5 separate regions of the Homo sapiens genome follow, and all the other regions are linked to region 5. The links are contacts of gene promoters, found by promoter capture Hi-C in blood cells and fetal thymus (Javierre and others, 2016). All regions are on one chromosome and are shown on one strand. Each heading gives the region's core, a stretch centred on a gene start or on the middle of the fragment in contact. The rest is flanking DNA. Distances are from core to core; before and after follow the strand shown.

Evidence for each region. The method cuts DNA at HindIII sites, captures the fragments that hold promoters and counts their contacts. A CHiCAGO score of 5 or more calls a contact.
Region 1: a fragment that was not itself captured here is called in contact with the fragment with the promoter of GTPBP2 in region 5 in 1 of 17 cell types (erythroblasts); the score reaches 6.2 in erythroblasts.
Region 2: a contact is called between a fragment that was not itself captured here and the fragment with the promoter of GTPBP2 in region 5, in 1 of 17 cell types (erythroblasts). The highest score is 6.6, in erythroblasts.
Region 3: a fragment that was not itself captured here is called in contact with the fragment with the promoter of GTPBP2 in region 5 in 8 of 17 cell types (erythroblasts, M1 macrophages, neutrophils and 5 more); the score reaches 9.4 in erythroblasts.
Region 4: a fragment that was not itself captured here is called in contact with the fragment with the promoter of GTPBP2 in region 5 in 4 of 17 cell types (erythroblasts, neutrophils, M2 macrophages and 1 more); the score reaches 7.4 in erythroblasts.

The regions. Positions count from the first base shown.
Region 1 is chr6:44,047,130-44,049,937 of GRCh38, forward strand. All of the region lies in intron 1 of SCIRT (stem cell inhibitory RNA transcript), which reads right to left. Among named protein-coding and RNA genes, the nearest start is that of SCIRT, 26 kb to the right of the region's middle. RefSeq lists an enhancer at 2,009-2,158. The HindIII fragment of the contact is 325 bases long and covers 1,151-1,475 here.
Region 2 is chr6:44,105,115-44,107,814 of GRCh38, forward strand. No RefSeq gene overlaps it. Among named protein-coding and RNA genes, the nearest start is that of MRPL14, 21 kb to the right of the region's middle. RefSeq lists enhancers at 1,293-1,462, 2,300-2,700. The HindIII fragment of the contact is 1,258 bases long and covers 785-2,042 here.
Region 3 is chr6:44,088,746-44,091,459 of GRCh38, forward strand. It overlaps the pseudogene RPL29P16. Among named protein-coding and RNA genes, the nearest start is that of SCIRT, 15 kb to the left of the region's middle. The HindIII fragment of the contact is 1,622 bases long and covers 654-2,275 here.
Region 4 is chr6:44,069,282-44,071,981 of GRCh38, forward strand. The region is part of intron 1 of SCIRT (stem cell inhibitory RNA transcript); the gene reads right to left. Among named protein-coding and RNA genes, the nearest start is that of SCIRT, 4.0 kb to the right of the region's middle. The HindIII fragment of the contact is 6,470 bases long and covers 1-2,700 here.
Region 5 is chr6:43,627,936-43,630,720 of GRCh38, forward strand. GTPBP2 (GTP binding protein 2) reads right to left here and starts at 1,329. Exons shown (of 12, transcript NM_019096.5): 1 at 1,042-1,329. The coding sequence starts at 1,227. It also overlaps a transcript of MAD2L1BP not described here. RefSeq lists silencers at 1,039-1,118, 1,139-1,278 and enhancers at 1,339-1,518, 2,139-2,358. The HindIII fragment of the contact is 21,691 bases long and covers 1-2,785 here.

The sequences.
Region 1 (2,808 bases), core at 63-2,562, 420 kb after region 5:
CACAACATGCAAGATCTGCCATTGCACCTCGCCTCCTCTTCCCCTCCCCATGTCATGATCCTCACCCATTGAAAGGAATGCCACCCCTCTCCCAGTTCTGGGATGCTCACCCCCACTCCCAGCTCACTCATCATCCTGCAGATCTCAGCTCCACCTCTCCTGGAAAGTCTTCCTAGATCCACCCCCGGGTCTCAAGCTGAAGCCTCCTCTCTGCTCTAGGGGACACTGTATCTCTTCTGTCCTGGCACTGATCACAGTGTGTTGAAACAGTCTGTTTGCTCCTCAGCCTTCCCATCTCAACCAGGAGCTCAGGAGGGAAGGGATACATCTGTCTTACTCATCATTAAGCTCCTAGCCCCAAGCACAGCACCTGGCACAGAGGAGGTGCTGGATAAACTTGAATAAATGAATCGATCAATCAGTCAACAGCCCATCACTACCCAGGGCCATTTTGCACACCTTCCAGGGCTGGCCTGAGGCAAGCATGCCCACACCCCTCTGCTCATGCCCCTCAACCCACTGCTTCATATGGCACGGTAAGTCTGGCTCCCCACCCTCTGGAAAGAATCCTCTGTATAGACCCCTTCCCCTAACCAAGCCCCACCACCTTCAGGGAAGGCTGAGCTCTAATCCAGGACACCACTCCAGGAAGTCCCTGACTGCCTCCACAACCTCACCTGCTCCAAACTCCTACAAAGCCTTTCACTGGGGCCACCCTTTGGCTTATATCACAATGTACTTTTTTGGGTTCACTGTCCGTTCCCCTAAGGCTCTTGGCCTCCCATGAAGGCTGGGGCCCTGGCAGACAGAACCAGCAGGTGCTACCTGGGCTGCACTCTGAGGCAGGCCCTGTGCTGGGTCCTCTAGAAAGATAGGCCAGCCTGGCCCTGCTGAGAACTCGGGATGGAGCAGGCTCGGGAAGCCAGGGGTTCTACTGTTTCCTTTCTCACCCTAGGCCCTGCTGGGGACCAGGACCTGGAAATGAACATCAGAGGAGGAAGGCCTCAGTGTGGAAGGGTATCAGCCAGCAGGCAGAATCCAAGGAGAGGGAAGAGCTAAGATTGGGCCATCAGAAGCCAGACTCCCAGTCCTGGGGCAGGAACCCAGGGGGGTCAGGGAACAGTCCCAGCAGAAGAGAAGGTGAATGGGAAGCTTCCCTCCATCTGCCTTGGCTGCTGCTCAGCTGGGAGAGGCTTCTACAGAGGTGAAGGACTCACTAAAAGCGTAGGGCTATGTGTATGTCTTCCCCAAACCCCTGCAGCAGTTCACCAGCCTCTTGGCAGTGGTGCAGCCAACCCCCTGCCCAAATCACCAATGCTCTCGGTACCAATCAGCAGAGGTTAGATGCGTGCTGGCCTAGTGCGTGCTGGCCCCTGGCAATGGGCCAGAAGTACAGAAGATTTGGTGCTGGCGTGACTGGAAGGCTCTCTGCACAGACATCCTTACGACCCCCTCCACACACAAACACATTTTCAAGCTTAAGGATGGGGCTTGAGAAGGTGGTCCATTTCCCCTGGGCAGCCATGAGATGGGGACCTATGTCCCTCACTCACACTGGGCCATCCATGCTGATGCTGGCCAGGAGACCCACGTTAGCTTCTGACTTTGCCATCAACCTGCTAGGTAACCTCAGATAAGCCCCATCCTCCTCTCTGTAAAGTGGGTGCAATAATCCCTGCTCAACTCACCCCACAGTGTTGCCATAATGATCAGATGAGGTTGTGCCCATGAAAATGCTCAGCGAACTTTAGAATCTACAAAATGAAATGTTTCTGATTATCATTCTTGTTGTTATTATCATCTAAGGAAACTAACTCTGCTGCCTTATTGAAATCAGCAGTTTCATCTCCCTTCGAGATCCCCTTGCTCAGCAACCATCACGGCTCCCCTTTGCCTACAGGACAAAGGCCACATTCTGTGGTCTAGATGTTCATCTGGCCTAAGCCTACTTTCCAGTTTTATCTCCCTTGCCTTTTAGTCTCACTGGTCCTTTTGGAGTTCCCCCAGCACATTTTTTGTCTTTCTGCCTCCATGCCTTTGTCCATGCTGTTCCCCCTCCTGGAACGCCCTCCCCCATTGCCACCTATGGAATTTAACTCCATCTTTCAAGACCAAACTGTGGCACCAGCTCTTCCATGAAGCCTCTCTCTCAGCTCAGCCAGAAGTGCTCTCTCCTTCTCTGTAAGGGACGTGGTTTTCATCAAATGCCATGACACTTTCTGGCACAGAGTTAGTGCTCACAAAATGAAAGTTGCAATGACCACGCCCTGCACTCTAAACACTGACTCATTTCATCCTTACTACAACCCCATGGTTGTGTACTATTAGCATCCCCATTTTCCAGATAGAAAAAATCAAGGTGTAGAAAGGCTAAATACCTTGCCCAAAAGAGCATCAGACCAGGGCTTGAACCTGATCAGCTGACTTTGGAACTCGTATGTGCCTCTAATCATGAGGAACTGCACCATGTCTATTTATTCAGTTTTGCTGTCCCCTGCCCAGCCCAGGGCCTGGCTTGGAGCAGGTGCTCAGTAAATATTTGCTGGCTTCAGCACTCATTCCTCAAGCCTCCTGTGCACAGTCATCTCACTGTCCTGGGAGTCTCTTAAAGGCAAGGCCCAGTGGCTGGCTCAGAGGGGTCCCAGGAAACGTGGCCAAATGGCTCCACTCACCTGCATATCCATACATGTCCTCATGCATCAGAGTGCCAGACTAAGGCTGGAAGAGATAGGGCTGCAACCCTTGGGCCAGCAGCACGAGGCTGTCTGGTAGCACACTTGGTGACCAAGTTGGCTGCTGGACAGGGTC
Region 2 (2,700 bases), core at 164-2,663, 480 kb after region 5:
AATAATCACACGGCATCATTGTGAAGACTTGGAAGAGAATATGCAAAGTGTCCAGCACAAAACTGGCATAAAGCAAGCCCTCAATAAATTGGTTTCTCTTGTCTGTTCCTACTACCATATGCCACAGACCAAGGCTGAAAGAGATGTGGTTTCTACCTCGGTGGGCAGCCAGATTGTCGCAAGAAGTTGGCAGCATGCCAAGACCAGGTCAGAGCCCTGGATTGAAATGTGAAGTTCCAGAAGGAAAAGGAACAGCACTGCTGCTGTAGGAGAATGGACAGGACTTCGTAAAAAACAAAAATGAGGCTAGGCGCGGTGGCTCACGCCTGTAATCCTAGCACTTTGGGAGGCCAAGGCAGGTGGATCACCTGAGGTCTGGAGTTTGAGAGCAGCATGACCAACATGGAGAAACCCCGTCTCTACTAAAAATACAAAATTAGCCAGGTGTGGTGGCGCATGCCTGTAATCCCAGCTACTCGGGAGGCTGAGGCAGGGGAATCACTTGAACCCGGGAGGTGGAGGTTGTGGTGAGCCGAGATCGTGCCACTGCACTCCAGCCTGGGCAACAAGAGTGAAACTCCGTCTCCAAAAAAAAAAGAAAAGAGAAAAGTAGGACAAACCCAAAAGTGACTCCAAAGTTGTAAGATTTGTAAGGCAGGAAGGTTGCTGGTGCCACTGCTAAGACAGTCCTGAGAGGTAAGGGCAGAGGCAGAAACCAAAGCTCTGAGAAATGTGACCAGCTAAAGTGACCTGAGATGCGAGCCAGTGGCTGAGCCCAAGCTAAAGCTTTGGCCTCAACCCCCCACCCAGAGCACTGCACATGCAATCATGTGGACCAGTTCTCCCCACCTCACTCTGTGAGCCAAATGGCCCCAATCCTCCGATGGCCTTGACTGCTGGCCTCAACCCTTCAGTAAACTGCAGCCTTTCTACATTTTCCAACACCTACTCCAGCTTTAGGGCCCAAATCATGGCAATCAGCAGATAAACAGTGATCAAGTGCATATCTCCATGGATTGCAATGTGGCTTCATTCCTGTAATTCTACACCACTATTTATGAACCATTGGCTCACTATGACTCCCAGATGCTCTCTGTCCTCCTTATACACAACAGGTCCCACCTAGTCTCACCCTTAAGACTGTCAACCCTTGGGGCCAGGGAGTTCTTTGTTGTGCGGGCAGTCCTGCACATTGTAGCATGGCCAGCAGCATCCCTGGACTCTACCCACTAGATGCTGCCCCCAGTTGTGACAACCAACACTATCTCCAGACATTGCCAAATGTCCCCAGCTGAGAACCACTGCCTTATCTCTTGTACAGCCTTTTTTTTCCCCCTAAACATGAAGAGTAAAAATACGTGCCAGCTTAAGCAGTTATAGACATCATAGAATATCTTAAACTGGAGTCATAAACTGGAGTTTAATGGGGAAACAGAAAACACTGGGCATCTGGCCAGTGTGGGTGAAGCCCTTGGGATAAGGATCTATGTGGAGACAGGCAACTCTGTCCACCATGGGTCCTTGTAGACACTCCATAATGTCTTAATTTTTACCAACCCCTATACTAGATGTCTATATGCAGACTCCTAAATTGAGAATACAAATTTTAACTTTTCAGCTCTCATATTTTTGTGCATCTACTAAGCATCAGCGATAGAACTATGAACAAGACAGAGACTGCTCCTGAGCCCATGGGCTTGCCCAGTTTCAAAGTGCTGTAAGAAGTGCTATGCTGAGGACCAACAGGGCTCAGCCTGGGCCCCACAGAGGAAGGAGAACACTGGCCCAACTCTACCACTTACTTACTGTTTCCTATCTTTAAAACAGGGACACCAGCCCTACCTACTACTCAGAGTTGTCACCAAGGCCTGGAGTCACAGAAGTTCTAGGCTGGAAGAAACTTTCTAGGACTAAAAGGTGAAGGCACTGCAAACTGGAAAGTGCTGCATAGAGGTAGAGGTCTGCCAGGGGGGTTCAGAAATCACATGGATCCCAGTGAGGAAGCACCTACTCAGAAGAAAAAGCAGTGAGGTGGGCTCTGAAGCTTTCAGACCCAGTGAGGAATGCAGGGGTCGGAGAGGTTTCAGACCACAGCTCACAAACATCCTGCCTCCCTCTGACCCATCAGCACCACATACTCCAACCACCTGGTCCACATGCCTTGGGAAGTCCTGCTCCTCAGCGCAGCTGAAATTCTCTCAACTCCTCACAAGCAATGCTGCTTCCTGCCCCTCAGGCGGGACAGGTATGGCCCCATTCAAAAGTATTTTTCGGGCCAGGCATGGTGGCTCACGCCTGTAATCCCAGCATTTTGGGAGGCCAAGGTAGGCAGATCACTTGAGATCAGGAGTTTGAGACCAGCCTGACCAACATGTTGAAACCCCATCTCAGCCAGGCACGGTGGCTCACGCCTGTAATCCCAGCACTTTGGGAGGCCGAGGCGGGTGGATCACAAGGTCAGGAGATCGAGACCATCCTGGCTAACACGGTGAAACCCCGTCTCTACTAAAAAAACACAAAAAATTAGCTGGGCGTGGTGACGAGCACCTGTAGTCCCAGCTACTCAGGAGGCTGAGGCAGGAGAATGGTGTGAACCTGGGAGGCGGAGCTTGCAGTGAGCCAAGATAGTGCCACTGCACTCCAGCCTGGGCGAAAGAGCAAAACTCCATCTCAAAAAAAAAAAAAAGAAACCCCATCTCT
Region 3 (2,714 bases), core at 215-2,714, 460 kb after region 5:
ACTCCAGCCACTCCAGCCTAGGCAACAGAGTGAGACCCTGTCTCAAAAAAACAAAAGAAAGTTATCCAAGATCGGCAACAAAGTAGTCATGAAACACCCTTACAACCAGTCACAGCAAGGCCCTGGAGAATCTCTTTGGTCTACTGAATGCAAGCAGCTGGGGCATCCGCTCCCAGCTGAAACATGCTGAAAGAGGAGTGGATAAGAGCACAGGTCTCAGGGTGGGTGCTGCCACTTCCAAGCTGTAAAACCCTGGACCACAGATTAGTTCACCTCTCTGGGCCTCAGTTTTCCCATCCGTAAAGTGGGGTGATAATAGCATCTCCTTGCAAAGTTGTTAGAAGTTTGTTTTTTGTTTTTTGTTTTGCTTTTTTTTTTGTTTTCCTGCCTCAGGTTTATTTGTACAAATGGCAGAGGAGGACACCAGCCCCATGCAGATGGCAGCCCAGGGGGGTCATACTAGTCCTTCTGTCCTTATGTTGGCGGACAGAGATCTCTACTCTGAAACCTTTGTAGGGGCCTGGACAGCTTTGGGAGCCTGAGCTAGAACTGAAGCTGGAGCTGCAGCCTGGGCCTTGGTTTGGTCCTTGGCCTTGGCCTTTGGCCGGCACAGCCTGAGCCCCTTGGCAATGCAGGCACGAGCACGCTTCCCAAGCTTGGGGTGGGCAATGTAGGCAAGTCAATCGAGCTTGCGGCTGACACCCTTTGGGATCTTGGGCTTAACCTCCTTGGGCTTTCGAGGACCTTGATAGCCTCAGCACGTGCCCTCATGGCCTCGGCATTGTTGGCCTGCATCTTTTTTAGGCCCTTCTTGTTGTGCTTCTTGGCAAGGTGCATGCTCCTTAGGAACTTGAGGTCCACCCCATTAAGACATTTGTATCTTTGTGATCGGGGTTTCCTGATGCCATTTCTGTGCCATTTTGGGGACTGGTTGTGTGTGTTGTGGTTCTTGACGTTGCCATGTCTGCACCTTAAGCCGCAGCTGCTAAAGCACCTAGAACCGGAAAAAGCTAGAAAGTTTAAATGAACTAATGTATGTAAAGCATTCAGCCTAGGGCCTGGCACATAGAAGGTGCACAACATGGGCTATTAGCATTACTACTGTGATCAGGACCACCCCAACCAAGTCATGCGCTCTTTTGGGGGAAGGAACTGCATCTTATTTATCTTTGTCTATTTGAGCATTTGCCATGGGCTTGGCACACAGTAGGTGCTCCATGTCTTAGATCAGGTTCCCCAGAAGCAGATCCTGAGATGAGGATTCATAGCTAAATGATTTGGGAGTGCTCCCAGGGAAACTGGAGAGGGACTCGGGGAGCAAGACAAGAAAGTAAGAGGCCAAGAAGGGTGCAGATTCAGGCAAAATTCTGCAGAGGGTGACTTCTGCCTGATCTCGCAGGGGAACTTGGGAGTGTAAATTACACCTCAGGGTTGTCCTCGCCCCAGGCAAGGGAGCTGGGACCTCACTCTCCTGCACCTCAGTCATTGGCTAAGGGCCACCATGGAGGGGATAGATTTCCAGGCACTTCCCATCATGCTCCAGTAGCAGAGGGCAGTGCTGAGAGACCACCTAGAAGGGAAGGCACCCAGGGGCCAGGAGGGTCCATGAAAATGGAAAAGGGCTGGAGGGGACCTGCCACCTTCCATAAATGTCATCCCAGCCTCTGAAAGATCACAGTTCCCCAGGAAGTCCAGGACAGTGGAGGCAGAGTGGGCAGAGGGGACTGCCAGGCCGTGGGAGCAGCTCTAACTTACGCGTTGGTCAGAGCCGGGAGGTCCTTTGAGTGGCCAGCCTCCCTACCAGCTGACAGGGGCAGGCCTGGGACTGCCTGAGTTGGTCTTAAGAGCCCCTACTATGTGCCTGGCGTAGATGCTGAGTTCTTCACATGATTTTCTCATTTAACCCTCACACCACCCCTAGACAGATGACTCTGAGGCATGGAGGCATAGCATAGAGAGGCCTTCCTGTGACCCCCCAAAGAGTGAAGGGCAAAGATGATTGATGTCATTAAGAAATGCAAATAAAAACCACAATGAGCTATCATTTCACACCCACTAGGGTGGTTATAATAAAAAATCTTTAATGAAATATAAGTGTTGGTGAAGATGTGGAGAAATGAGATCCCTCACACATTGCTAGTGGGAATGTAAAAGGGTACAGCTGCCGTGGAAGTTTGGCAGTTCCACCTTAAGCTAAACACAGAAGCACGACAGGACCCTGAAATTCCACTCTTAGTATAGACTAAAACAAATTAAATACACTTGTTCAGACAAAAGCTTGCACAAGAATGTTCACAGCAGCACTATTCACAACCCCAACAGTGGAAACAACCCCTATGTCCACCACTGATGAATGGATAAACAAAATGTGGGTATATCCATACAATGGAATATTATTCAGTCTCATAAAAAGAAACAAAATACCGACACATGCTACAACATGGATGAACCTTGAAAACATTATGCTGAGTAGAAGAAGCCAGACACAAAAGGCCATATAGTGTACAATCCCATTTATAGGAAATGTTCAGAATGGGGAGATTTTTAGAGACAGAATGCAGATTGCTGGCTGCCAGGGGCTGGGAGTCAGGGACTGAGGAGCGGTGTGGAACTGGGGGGTGGTGACAGTCAAGAAGCATTTTCTTTTTTTTTCTTTTCTTTTCTTTTTTTTTTTGAGATAGGGTCTCACTCTGTCACCCAGGTTGGAGTACAGT
Region 4 (2,700 bases), core at 104-2,603, 440 kb after region 5:
GTCTCTATGAATCTAACTACCTTAGTTACCTCATTAAAGTGGAATTATACAATATTTGTCCTTTTGTGATTTGCTGATTTCACTTAGCACAATGTCCTTAAAGTTCATCCCTGTTACAGCATGTGTCACAATTTTCTTCCTTTTTAAGGCTTAATAATATTCCATTGTATGTATGTACCACATTTTCTTTCTCCATTTGGGTAGCTTTTTTTATTTATTAACTACTTTTTTTTTTTTTTTTTTGAGACGGAGTCTCGCTCTGTCACCCGGGCTGGAGCACAGTGGCTTGATCCCGGCTTACTGCAACCTCCGCTACCCAGGTTCAAGCGATTCTCCTGCCTCAGTCTCCAGAGTTAACTACTTTTTAAAAAAACCAAAGTAATATATTCTCGTGGCAAAAAGTCTGAACAGTTCAGAAACACATAAAGTGAAAAGTGGACTTTTCCATCCCTTCTCACTCTGGTCATGGAAAGCCCTTTCTGGTGACTCTGAAATTTTAGAGGCAGAAGGGCTAACTGGTTTTTATCCATTTTTTACACATATAGTGACATACTCCTCATCAGTACTTCTCAAACACGAGTATGCATCAGAATCATACAGAGAACATGTTAAAACCACAGACTGCTGGGCTCCAGCCCTAGTGTTTCTGATCCCGTAGTTCTACGGTGGCCCAAGATTCCAGGTTTCTTTTTTGTTTGTTTTTTCAGACAGGGTCTCTCTCTGTCACCTGGGCTGGAGTGCAGTGGCACCATCTTGGCTCCCTGAAACCTCCACCTCTCAGGCTCAAGCGATCCTCCTGCCTCAGCATCCCTAGTAGCTGGGACTACAGGCTAATTTTTTGTAGAGAGGTTTTGCCATGCTGCCCAGGCTGGTCTTGAACTCCTGGGCTCAAGCAATCCTTCTGCCTTGGCCTCCCAAAGTGCTGGGATTACAGGCATGAGCCACTGCAACTGGCTGAAGATTCTGGATTTCTAATAGGCTCCATGCCCATGCTGGCAGAGGGCACACCCTTCATGGAGTAGCACCACCCAAGGAATGTCTTGCCACTTGCTTTTCTACTTAGTGAATATCAACACACAACCTCAACCTCACTCTTTTCAACCACTGCATACTATTGGTGTTTGGAGGCATCATAACATATCCAATCCGTGCCCTATTAATGGACTTAATGTTGCTTCCAGTTTTTCAGGTTTGGAAGCAAAACTGCAATGAACACACTTGTATGTATACTTTGAACACTTGTGACATTTATAACAGTGCATCTGATAAATTCCTAGATATGGAACCCTCGAGTCCATGGTTTGTGAATTAATTCTTCTCATGTATACTGCCAATCCCCTTCACAGGTGCAACTGTCCTCCCCCCCAGCTCTGAGGATGTCTGTGTCCACACAGTGAGGGGTTGCCCATTTTAGTTGTTGTCAATCAAATTGGCGAAAAGAGAATCTTCTCATGTCTTCATTTTGATTTCTTCTATTTTGACTGAGGGTGAGCATTTTCACCTGCTTGTTAACCATTAGTATCCCCTTACCGGTTTATGTGCTTTGCCCATTTTTCTATTCGTTTTTATTTTCCTTATTGACTTGTAAAAACTCATCGGTCATCTATGTTAAAAATATTTTTTCCAGACGGTTGTCTTTAGAATTCAGGATATTACATTAAAAACACATTTTTTTTTCAGAGATGGAGTCTCACTGTGGTGCCCAGGCTGGCCTCAAATTCCTGGGCTCAAGTTATCCTCCCACCTCAGCCTCCCAAGGAGCTGGGACTACAGGCATGTAACACAACACCCTACGTCATATTTTAATACAGCCAATTTTAAAAAATTCTTTCCCTTTGTGACTCCTAGGTTTTGTGTCAAACTTTCCCCAATCCAAGAACATACACTTTTAGACTTTCAGATGTTTTCTTCTAGTAATTTTATGGTTTCCTTTTTACATTTAAATCTTCACTCCATCGGGATTTATTTCAGAATAAGAGATGAAGTGGGGAGCTGGATTTCTTTTTTTTCCCCCTTAACAGCTAACCAGTTGTCCAATTTGATTGAATAATTCATCTTTTCTCCTCTGATCTAAAATGTCATTTTATCATATATTTAATTTCCATTTGTTCACGGGTGTGTGTCTGGCCTCTACTCTGCTCCTTTGATCTGCCTGTCTGTTCTTGTGCCAGTACCCAACTATTTTATTATTGGAGCTTTCTACAACATTTTAGTAGCACTAGTCGTCCCTTATAATACTTCTTTTTCAGGATTTTCCAAGCTCTTTTTGCATGTTTATTTCTCCAGATGAACTTTAATATAATTTGTCAAGTTCAAAAGATCTCGTTGTTTTTCACATCTTCCAACAGATGTGATTTTCGGACATCTCAGCCCACAGCCAAACAGAAACAAGTTGAGAATAGGGTGGGTTTGGTGGTCTGCCCTGGAGGCAGGCAAAGTGATGGTAACAGAAGTGATAGTTTATACGGAGAGAGTTGATGAAGTGATAAAGTACTATAAAAGTAGACACAAGAACTACGAAAATGTAGCCTTCATGGAATGAGCCGTTGGTGTGGGGCCAAAAAAGGCCTTGGATTTTCACTGTATTACAACCAGGATACTGATGGACCCTTGTAACCACAACCCTGAGTCATGAAGACTCACATGTTCTGTAACCTCTGATTAAAAGCCCGGAAAGCGTGTAATATCCACTAGTGATTC
Region 5 (2,785 bases), core at 79-2,578:
TGGTACAAGAATGACAGTCTAGGGCCCAGACCAATGGTTCCCAAAGTGAGGTCCTGGGACCAGCAGCATTAGTATCACACGGGAACTTATAAGAAATGCAAATTCTCAGGCCCATCCTCACTAGTAAGAAAGAATCAGAAATTCTAGGCTGGGCACGGAGGCTCACGCCTGCAATCCCAGCACTTTGGGAGGCCGAGGCGGGTGGATCACCTGAGGTCAGGAGTTTGAGACCAGCCTGGCCAACATGGTGAAACCCCATCTCTACTAAAAATACAAAAATTATCTGGGCGTGGTGGCGGGCACCTGTAATGCCAGCTACTCGGGAGGCTGCAGCAGAAGAATCGCTTGAGAACCCGGGAGGCCGAGGTTGCAGTGAGCTGAGATAGCCCTACAGCACTCCAGCCTGGGTAACAGAGACTCCGTCTCAAAAAAAATAAATAAATAAATAATAAAAAAATAAAATTGGCCAGGCGTTGGGGGCCAGCAATCCGGGTGATTCGATACATGCCAAAGTTTGATAACCACTGGCTTAGGCTGTGTGTGTGTGTGTGTGTGTGTGTGTGTGTGTGTAGTGAACATACTGCTCTTTTCCCGAGTACTGTGTGTGTGTCCGTGTGGAACATATTGCTCTTTTCCCGGGTACTCCCCTTCTCCCTGTGGAACAAGTTTAGAAGAAGTGGTGGTTACTGTCTGCCTCTCGTCCCAGGATGCAGTCTCTCTTGCCCTATGGCGGCACACGCAGTTGGTCGGGGTGCTCTTCCTGGGATCCCCTTTCTCTACTTCTCTCCTGGGGTAATCTAGATCAGAAGGGGGAGTCCTCCCTCTCCACTCTTCCTCCCTGAGGTCCTGTCACCTGAGAGTCCAGTCTCTGCCCTTCCTCCCTGGGGTCCCGGGACCTGAAAGAGGTGTTCTCCTCCCGTGCCCCTCCTCCCTGGGGTCTCGACACCGGAAGGGGAGATTAATTATCTGGGTCCCGCCTCCCTAGAGTCCTGGGCCGGAAAGAGTGGCTTCTTCCCGCCCTACCACTTCTCAGGTGCTCACCTCGGGGGGCAAATACGGGGGGTTGTTGGCTTTGCCCCCTCTGTTCCTTCCGTTCTTCTTCTTTCCCTTTGGCCCCCCGCAGCCGCTGCTGCTGCCGGCCCCCCTAGCCTTGAGGGTTCCGCCCACGGCCGGGCCCCCTCCGGGCCGGCAGCAGCCGCCGAACAGCTCCGATACCCGCGAGTCCATCCGCCGCTGCCGCCAGCCCCCCGCCCGGCCCCTCCCCCGACCGCCGCCGCCGTCGCCGCCGCCCTTACTGCCACTGCCGTGTCCGGCCGGCCTGAGCAGAGTGGGGTGGGGCTCTGCACAAGCTACGCCCCCCACCTCCCTGGCCTCCGGGTCGCGTCAGAAACAGCCGCGGGGCACCACGGGATATAGAGTCCCCAGGCCTGGGAATTCACTTAAATGACACGTCGCCGCCCTACAACTCCCAGGAGGCATCGCGGCGCAAGTGGCCGCGGGAGTCGTCGGAGGCGTGGGGAAGGAGCGCGCCTTGGCGCGCAAAGGCTTAAGGGAGCTGTAGTCTGACTTCCAGTCCTCGCGCTATGTTCTTTTTCTAGGACTTGGGGGGAATTTAGAGCCTCGAGGCCTGGGGTGGGGACGCGAGGACACCAGCGTAGAAGAGCTTACATCAGAATCGAGCTTTGTGGGCGCTCCGGGATTTGGCCCTTTAGCGCGGATCCTAGACAACAGGTTTTGGACCTCGAGAGCTGCAGAACTGAGGCTACTGGTGCCGCCAGCCTGCTGGCTCCGCCTCTGCCTCAGTTTCTTCCCCTATGGCCCGCGTGCCGCTGGGGTGAGTCAGGGCGAACGCCAGGGCGGAGGCGGATGGTGATTAGCCAAATTACGGCTGTTATTGTTGGGATGATTATGCTACCTTTACATAGTAGTCACTGCTTTATTACCAGGCTGGCACCGTCCAGGGGCTGGTTTTAATAACCGGAGGCACCGCGGTGGCCCCGACACGAGACCCGAACCCGTAAACCAGCTTCCTCCCCGAAGGCTGCAAGCATACCCAAAGCGAGTATTCCTCCTCCCCTTTGTTTTGAAGCAGAACCAATCGGGAAGAACTGAGTTTGGTTTTAAACGGCCAAGACTGTAGGAGGGGCCTGGCCCCTACTTCGGGCGGGGCTAGGGCTCGGGTTACACCAACCACCACGAGGGCGGGGCAGTGGCCGGGAATAGAAACTTGGCCTAGGGCCACAGGGGATTTTTGGCTTTTGACTCTCTTGTGAAGCAATCTCCAGCTCTTTAGTGCTGTTGCACTCTACAGAGTACATACATTCAGCGACATAAGCCAGTGCACAGAACACAGAAAGGCAGGGTGGAAAAGCAGTTATGTTGCTGAGCTGCGAGTCAGGACGCTAGGGCTCAATTCACAGCCGCATGGCTGTCTCATGACTCAGACCACTCACAGTGTGTCCACTTCTCCCCTCTTCTCGAACTGCGAGGTGCTCATACACGGTCAAGAAATTAAACAACTCAGCCGGGTGCGGTGCCTCACGCCTGTAAATCACAGCACTTTGGGAGGCCAAGGAGTGTGCGGATCACCTGAAGTCAGGTGTTCGAGACCAGCCTGGCCAACACAGCGAAACCCCGTCTCTACTAAAAATACAAAAATTAGCTGGGCGTGGTGGCGCATGCCTGTAATCCCGGCTGCTCGCGAGGCTGAGGCAGGAGAATCGCTTGAACCCGGGAGGCGGAGGTTGCAGTGACCCGAGATCACGCCATTGCACTCCAGCCTGGG